Linked DNA regions of Homo sapiens: region 1 is linked to region 2. The links are contacts of gene promoters, found by promoter capture Hi-C in blood cells and fetal thymus (Javierre and others, 2016). All regions are on one chromosome and are shown on one strand. The core of a region is centred on a gene start or on the middle of the fragment in contact, and the rest is flanking DNA. Distances in the headings are between cores, read along the strand shown. Region 1 overlaps CUBN (cubilin). Region 2 holds the start of CUBN (cubilin).

Region 1 (3,493 bases), core at 386-2,885, 90 kb after region 2:
TTTTAAACTGTTGAATTTAAAAGTCAGAATTTCTGTCCCTTCCACGTGTTAACATTAAAAAAACAGCAGCACAGAACGTCGAATGCGCTTCTCTAACAAACAAATCAGACTGATCCCTGAATATAACCAAGTTATTCTGCTCTCCACAAATTCAAGGGAATTTGATGCCTATTTTAACATGACTATTTAATTTTCATGACTCTTTAGTTTGAATTCACTTCAGTATTATTTCACATTTCTTCTAAATGGAAATCCTTTCACTATGAAAATACTGCACCAAATATATATGTGTGTGTGTCTCTGTGTGTGTATATATACACACACATATATACACATCATATATGTGTGTGTGTACATACACAGATGATTTTTATTTATTTTTTTTAAAGGAAAATCTCATCTTGGAGCACTTATGAAGTATATAATAGTGGTTCTTAACAGTCATTTCTTTTTCCAGCATGTGAGAATGTGGTAATAGTCAATCAAACCTATGGCATCTTAGAGAGTATAGGGTATCCGAATCCTTATTCTGAAAATCAGCATTGCAACTGGACCATCCGGGCAACAACAGGCAACACTGTGAACTACACATTTTTAGCATTTGACTTGGAACATCACATAAACTGCTCCACAGATTATTTAGAGGTATGTATTATAAAGCTTGATTGATCACTGCTTTTTCAGATCAAGGGAGATGTGTCAAGTTAGAATCCATCATGCTTTTTAGAATAAAATCCCTAACTCTGCCCCACGCATCTATAACACACCAACCACCCATGGTATTTGAACAGGTATATTTCATATTTAATGTATTAAATTGTGAATACAGAGAACTATCTATGTTTTTAGGTTTCAGTGTAACTTCTGGACTCATTGACCTCATATTACTTAACTTACATGGAAGGAGAGTAATAACCTCTATTTTTTGTTGGTTGTTTTTATGTTTGTTCTCTGTGTATAAGAGATCAGAAAATGTTTGGGTATCTTGGATTTATTTAAGATGTCATTTTTCTAGTATGAGGTATCATGGTTTTAATTGTTGTTTTTATTTTTAAATGTAAGTTCATTTCAGTATATTTTTATTTTTGTAAAATTGAAGTTTCAATTGTTATAATCATGACCACTAGTAACATTTATTCAACTGTCTGTATGCAATTTCAGGCAATAAATCTTGCTTAAATATTAGGCAACCTTGAATATAAGGTAATATGTTATTTTTGCAATAAGAAATTTTAACTTAAAAAGCTTTTTGATAACTTGCATATGTAACTTTTAGGGCTACAAATTGGGAGGTTATTTTGGCATCTACGTTTCATCATCAGTAAAATAACTTTTTGAGTCATCTAAGGCATTATCTTTATTTCTGTCTATATTGTTAATATATAATACTTCAAAAAATCCACATATAATGTTTTCACTAGATACCCTTTCTGAAGTGATAAGTACTTGCTCTGATAACAGGACATTTTTTTTCCCACCTGCCCTCCTACCTGCAGCCTAGTGACTTAAGGTAGTTGTTTTTAAGGTGGTCAGTGATTTTTAGAAGTCTTACTTACAAAGACTTCAACATCCATTGCTGGCAACTCTGGGGTCATATTCCCAGGAAAAAATATGTTATTCTTGTAAAATGTTCTTAATTGTGTTTTTACAAGTTGTATAGGAAAACTAGCATTGGTTGAGGTTGGTTGAGGTTAACATATATTTTCCAAATAGCACTTTTGTTTATGAAAACAAAGAGTGACAACAAAGCATTCTGCACTTTGAGAGACTCTGTGAGGTCCTAACTATAAGGAGATTCCCTTGTTTTTCAGAGATAATTTTTTGGGAAAAAATTTTGCCTTATATTTACAAAAGTACAATATTACAGAAATATTAGCCATAGTGTTTACCCATTAGAAAGTTTTGTTTACCAGTATTCTAAGAAAATATGACACAACATGAAACAAACTTACAAGCACGTACTTGGCAATGGTTTTAAAGTCCACCTTCCTTGACCTGGAGTTCAACTGGTCTTCACAAGCTTAATGATACCAGGATGGTATCATTAAGATACTACTAGAATAGGCATCCATTTCTTCACATGGTGAGACCTTGTTTGTGTTTTAGAAAAAGCAGAAAAGTTGCTTTCAAAGCCCTTTGTTTATACCGTGAACACAGCAGTTGGTCATACCTCCTTTTACCAGTTAGGACTATTCTGATTCCCACTGGACTGTGGGCTTCTCGAAGGTCTGTGCTGTCTCCTACTAACTTTGTAACCCAGGCACTTATTATACAGGTGGGACATTACAGGAGTTCAGTAAGTTCAAGTTGAATTGAATATCACAGCCATATTTTAGTATCAGTCTAATGATAACTACTAATGAATGAGAAAGATTGAATTCCAAACTGGCGTTTTTGTACGACCTCCTACACACGCAGTGCAATCCTACAAATTGGAGCACAAACCAAAATAGGACTCATGATCTTGCCGAGCGTTGCACGTATAACAGTGTGCTGGGCACCATAATCGTGATTTGGTAAAGCGTAATGGAGAAAGCCACAGAAAGGAGGATGCTTTTGAATTGGGCTTTAAAGGAGGCTTTGGCAGAAAGAGGGGGGAGGAAAGAGATGAAACATTTCCAGGACCTGAACTCCATTTCTTTCGACTCATTTGAGGATGAAATGGCAACAAAAAGGTGTTTAAAAACTCAAATTAAAAAATGCTTGTTCCAGCAACTGCAGAGTAGCTCATTAGAGCCCCTTATGGATGACGTGTCTGTCATGTTATGGTCATGCCATTTCTCTTGTGCAACATTGACGGTGAAAGAGCAAAAATACAAAATGAGAACCAGAAGTTCAGAAAGGCCTTCCAAAAAAACGGCGCTGTTGCCAGAGGGAGGAGATTGTTTTCCATCTCTGTGAGCCAAGAGGCCAGACCAGAGCAATAGCTGCAATAGCTGGTCTATGATGGAAATTTTAACACACAAACAACCATTTACAGAGAGAAAACTCACACACACAGAAATCTAGCTTCCATTATTTTAATCGCTTCTGGGTTTTTTCAGCTGACTTCCCCAAATCCCAACTGGATGCCTGTTACTAGAGCCAGAATTTAGTTATTCTGAATTAATAAAATGGAAACTACAAAAAGACTTAATTACGTGCTGGTCAGACACTATCCCGCCTTGATGAGAGGAATGGGTTTGAAAAGATCCCATTGGAAACCAAATGCATCCTTTATTATTTCACCCTCTGGGCAAAACAAAATATTTCAGATCTGGAAATAAAATATACAGTGGGAGAAGGGACCATTTGCTTAAAGGAGTGAGACCATTTGCCCGTGCAAACATGGGGAATCAACCTGAAGAGTTCTGGCTGTATTTTACAACTTGATTTCAGTCTTCCATTTTTATTTTGAGTCTGAGTCTCCATGCAGAAAAGGAGATTTCAAACGAGTGATTGAATATAGAAATGGAAATGATAGATTTGGGAGAAATCAACATGGAGATGTATA
Region 2 (3,875 bases), core at 351-2,850:
AATTGGGAAGGTTTAAAAAAAATTTTTAAAAGCAGTGACTATTTGAGTATCACAAGTAAAGTTTTTTTTTGTTTTGTTTTGTTTTTGAGACGGCATCTCGCTCTGTCCCCCAGGCTGGAGTGCAGTGGCATGATCTCAGCTCACTGCAAGCTCCGCCTCCCGGGTTCACGCCATTCTCCTGCCTCAGCCTCCCGAGTAGCTGGGACTACAGGCGCCCGCCACTAAGCCCGGCTAATTTTTTGTATTTGTAGTAGAGACGGGGTTTCACCACGTTAGCCAGGATGTTCTCGATCTCCTGACCTCGTGATCCGCCCGCCTCGGCCTCCCAAAGTGCTGGGATTACAGGCGTGAGCCACCGCGCCCGGCATAAGTAAAGAATTATAAGCTATGGTACATAATGATCCTCTCCTCAAAGAGCCTACATAAGTAAGACACAAAATAAGTAAAACACAAACAGGCTTGTCCTGAAAGAGCCTGCATGGGTATTAACCAATGCAATGGTAATTACCTAGAGATTTTTCTTAGAAGTGAAATTTTTACAGCTCTCCCTCAAATTCAGTTTTGTCTGTGTGCTCATGGAAAGTCTGAGTGCATCAATAGTTGATTTTACAATCGAAATGTAGAATATTTTCATCACTCTCAGTGGTTTCTGTAGTCCCAGCACAGAGTGAGTGGGGACATCAGTGCTCCATGTCCTCAAACCATATATCCAGCTGGAAGGGTGTATAGCGCAGTGTGGAAAGTGGGAATGGATTCCACAGCCGTCCATAGGTCCCACAGGGATGATAAAAAGTAAAAAGTACAAATTCTTTGTACATTCTGGATATTAACCCATTTTCATATATATATGATTTGCAAATATTTTCTTCCATTCTGGGAGTTGCTTTTTCACTCTGTTGATGTATTTTTTGATGCACAAACGTTTTTAATTTTGATGTATTCCAATTTATATCTTTTGGTTGTCTGTGTGTTTTTCTTTTTTTGCCCATGCTTTTGGTATCATACTCAAGAAATCATTGCCAAATCCAAAATCCAAGGTCATGAATTTTTGTCCTATTCTTCTGAGTTTTATGTTATAGTTTCAGATTTTTTGAACCATTGTGAGTTAATTTTATAGTTTTAGCTCTTAGATTTAGATCTTTGAACTTTTTTGAGTTAATTTTTGCATATGGTATGAGGTAAGCCTCCAACTTCTTTTGCATGTGGATATCTAGTTTTCCTAGCGCTGGGTAAAGGTGGAACTCCTCTGCAAGGGAGGTGAGGAAGGAGGGGAACAGAGAAAGGTGTAGATAATGACCAGTTTACTTTTGTTGAAACCTAGTTACTTCTTAAGCAAAGATTGTTTAAGTGGATGTTTTCAAAGCTGCTTGTTACTGTTTCAAAGGTCAAATAGATAATGATTAAGTTGCGCATCACTTAAGGTAGATTTTGACCTCTCACAAGTTGAAGAGTACTGAAGATCTAAGATCATTTACATCCCTCTGGAAGAAAAAATAACATAGCCTTCTAGGGCAAAGAAGAAAAAACTCAACAGTTACAGGATATTCCATGGTTCAAAGTACACCTGCCTGGTTTGCTGTTCTCCAAAATCCCATGCTCAGTTGGTTGGAGTGGCCTCACTCTTACCTGCCAACCTGGGAGGTTGATGATGAACATGTCTTTACCTTTTCTTTGGAGTTTGCTTACCTTATTAATATTTGCTGAAGTAAATGGCGAAGCTGGAGAACTTGAGCTGCAGAGACAAAAAAGAAGCATCAATCTCCAACAGTAAGTAAACACATGGGTCATTCCTGCTCAGGGACTAGGCTAATTCCTCACCAGTTTTCCCAAATAGCCAGATAAACAAAGGTGCAATTTTTCTTGAGGAAAATTATGTTGAGAAGCAAACAGGGAAAAACATTTAGACTGAGGTATGAAATTACTTTCCTATGCACAAATTATTATCTGTCATTTTGCAAATAATCTGTTTGCAATTGCCAGGAGGTATCTCTGAGAAATGTGCAGAGAAAAAAGTGGCAGATGAGCAGGGGCAGTTGGGTTGAGATGATCAAAAAGTGAAGATGTATTTGGCCTGTAGTTATTCAGTAAGAAACTTTGTTATTTTGGTTTAAAAATTGTACTTGCTAATTACTGATGCATTCTCTCGTTTGAATTATATAGGCCTCGAATGGCTACAGAGAGAGGAAATTTGGTGTTTCTTACGGGGTCTGCTCAAAACATTGAGTTTAGAACCGGATCCCTGGGAAAAATTAAATTAAATGATGAAGATCTCAGTGAGTGTTTACATCAGGTAATACACTGGAAATATATTGAAGTCATTTTGTATATCCATATACGGTGACTTAATTGAACAAGTCTAGATTAATCTGTACCTTGAATCTTTTTTAATTATTATTTTTTATTAATACATAATTTGATACATTCCTATAATGTGTAAAGTTCAAATCAGGGTAATTGGGATATCCATCACCTTAAATATTTACCTTTTCTTCATGCTAAGAACATATGAATTGTTCTCTTCTAGTTATTTTGAAATGTACAATAGATTAATGTTAACTATAGTCACCCTACTGGTCTATCAAACACTAGGTCTTATTTCTTCTATCTAACTATATATTGTATTCATTAATCAACCTGTCTTCAGCCTCCCTCCCCCTTCCTAGTGTACCTTGAATCTTTAGCATAGAGAACATAATTGGGCATCAGACATGTTCTTGTAAAGGACGATGGCCTGGGGTTAATAGTGGGTAGAGGGAGTATGCTAAAAGATAGAAGCTCATTGTGCCAGACAATGCACCCTAGTCCAGAGAAGGCACGGAGGGTGGAACTGAAACTCCTCCACAGGGGATGCGAGGAAGTAGGGGACCAAGGATATGTGGACATGTGACCAGTTTGCTTTTGCCACAGAACAGAATTGGCCAGTTATTCTCCTGCCTTACTGGGTGTTTTCATTTCCCAATAATCACTGCATATTTCAGTCATAATGTTAGAAGTCAGCATTATTCAGAGCTTACTGTGGGCCATCCACTGTGCTTAGCACCGTATGGATGTTATCTCATTTGACCTTCACAGCTGTCCTATGAGGTGGCCTTTATTGTCACCCTAGTTTTACAAGAGGTAAAGAAACCCTGAAGCAGTTAGGTAACTTGCCCAGGACAGCAATAAATAGCTGAGCCAGGACTTAAAACCTAAACAGTCTGCTTCCAAGCCAGGTTTCTTAATAAGCACCCTAAACTGGTATTATAGGAAAACATACAAATGGAAAATACCTTGATCTATTGTTACTGAAAAGGATAAGTGGAATTATGCTGTGGCTATTTTAGCCCAGTGTTTATTACGCATGGTGTTGTTTTGGTTTTTATAATAATAGGCAAGATCTTAGTGCTTAAAGTAGAATACTACTCAAGTTTTTAATTATGTTACTGTAAAGATAAATATGATATTTTCACTAGTGCTCTTCATTTCTTCTTCTTTTTCTAAAATTAGATCCAGAAAAACAAAGAAGATATTATAGAGTTAAAAGGGAGTGCAATTGGTCTGCCTCAAAATATATCTAGTCAAATCTATCAGCTTAATTCCAAGGTAAGTCTGACATCTACGTCATAAGAACCGATGAGTTCTCCCTAGTTCTATTGTATAAGTAACCGTTTTGTAGGGGATATACCAACTTTGTGTGCTCTTTAGAGATTTAGCATGTAACTACTCACTGTTTGGTTAAATGACACAGCTGTAATGGAGGCTGTAGAAGTGATGGACAGAAGGCAGGAAATGCTGTGCAAGCACTTGTTGCAGAAGTAGGCCTTGGGCTGGGAGCAGTGGCTCACTGCAAGTGAATGGATGATTAATATAAAAAACTGCCTGTAATCCCAGCAGTT

Evidence for each region. The method cuts DNA at HindIII sites, captures the fragments that hold promoters and counts their contacts. A CHiCAGO score of 5 or more calls a contact.
Region 1: a fragment that was not itself captured here is called in contact with the fragment with the promoter of CUBN in region 2 in 1 of 17 cell types (M0 macrophages); the score reaches 5.4 in M0 macrophages.

Annotation. Positions count from the first base shown.
Region 1 is chr10:17,038,185-17,041,677 of GRCh38, reverse strand. CUBN (cubilin) reads left to right here. Exons shown (of 67, transcript NM_001081.4): 27 at 458-645. Among named protein-coding and RNA genes, the nearest start is that of CUBN, 90 kb to the left of the region's middle. The HindIII fragment of the contact is 775 bases long and covers 1,248-2,022 here.
Region 2 is chr10:17,127,536-17,131,410 of GRCh38, reverse strand. CUBN (cubilin) reads left to right here and starts at 1,600. Exons shown (of 67, transcript NM_001081.4): 1 at 1,600-1,767; 2 at 2,161-2,290; 3 at 3,487-3,582. The coding sequence starts at 1,646. The HindIII fragment of the contact is 5,551 bases long and covers 1-3,875 here.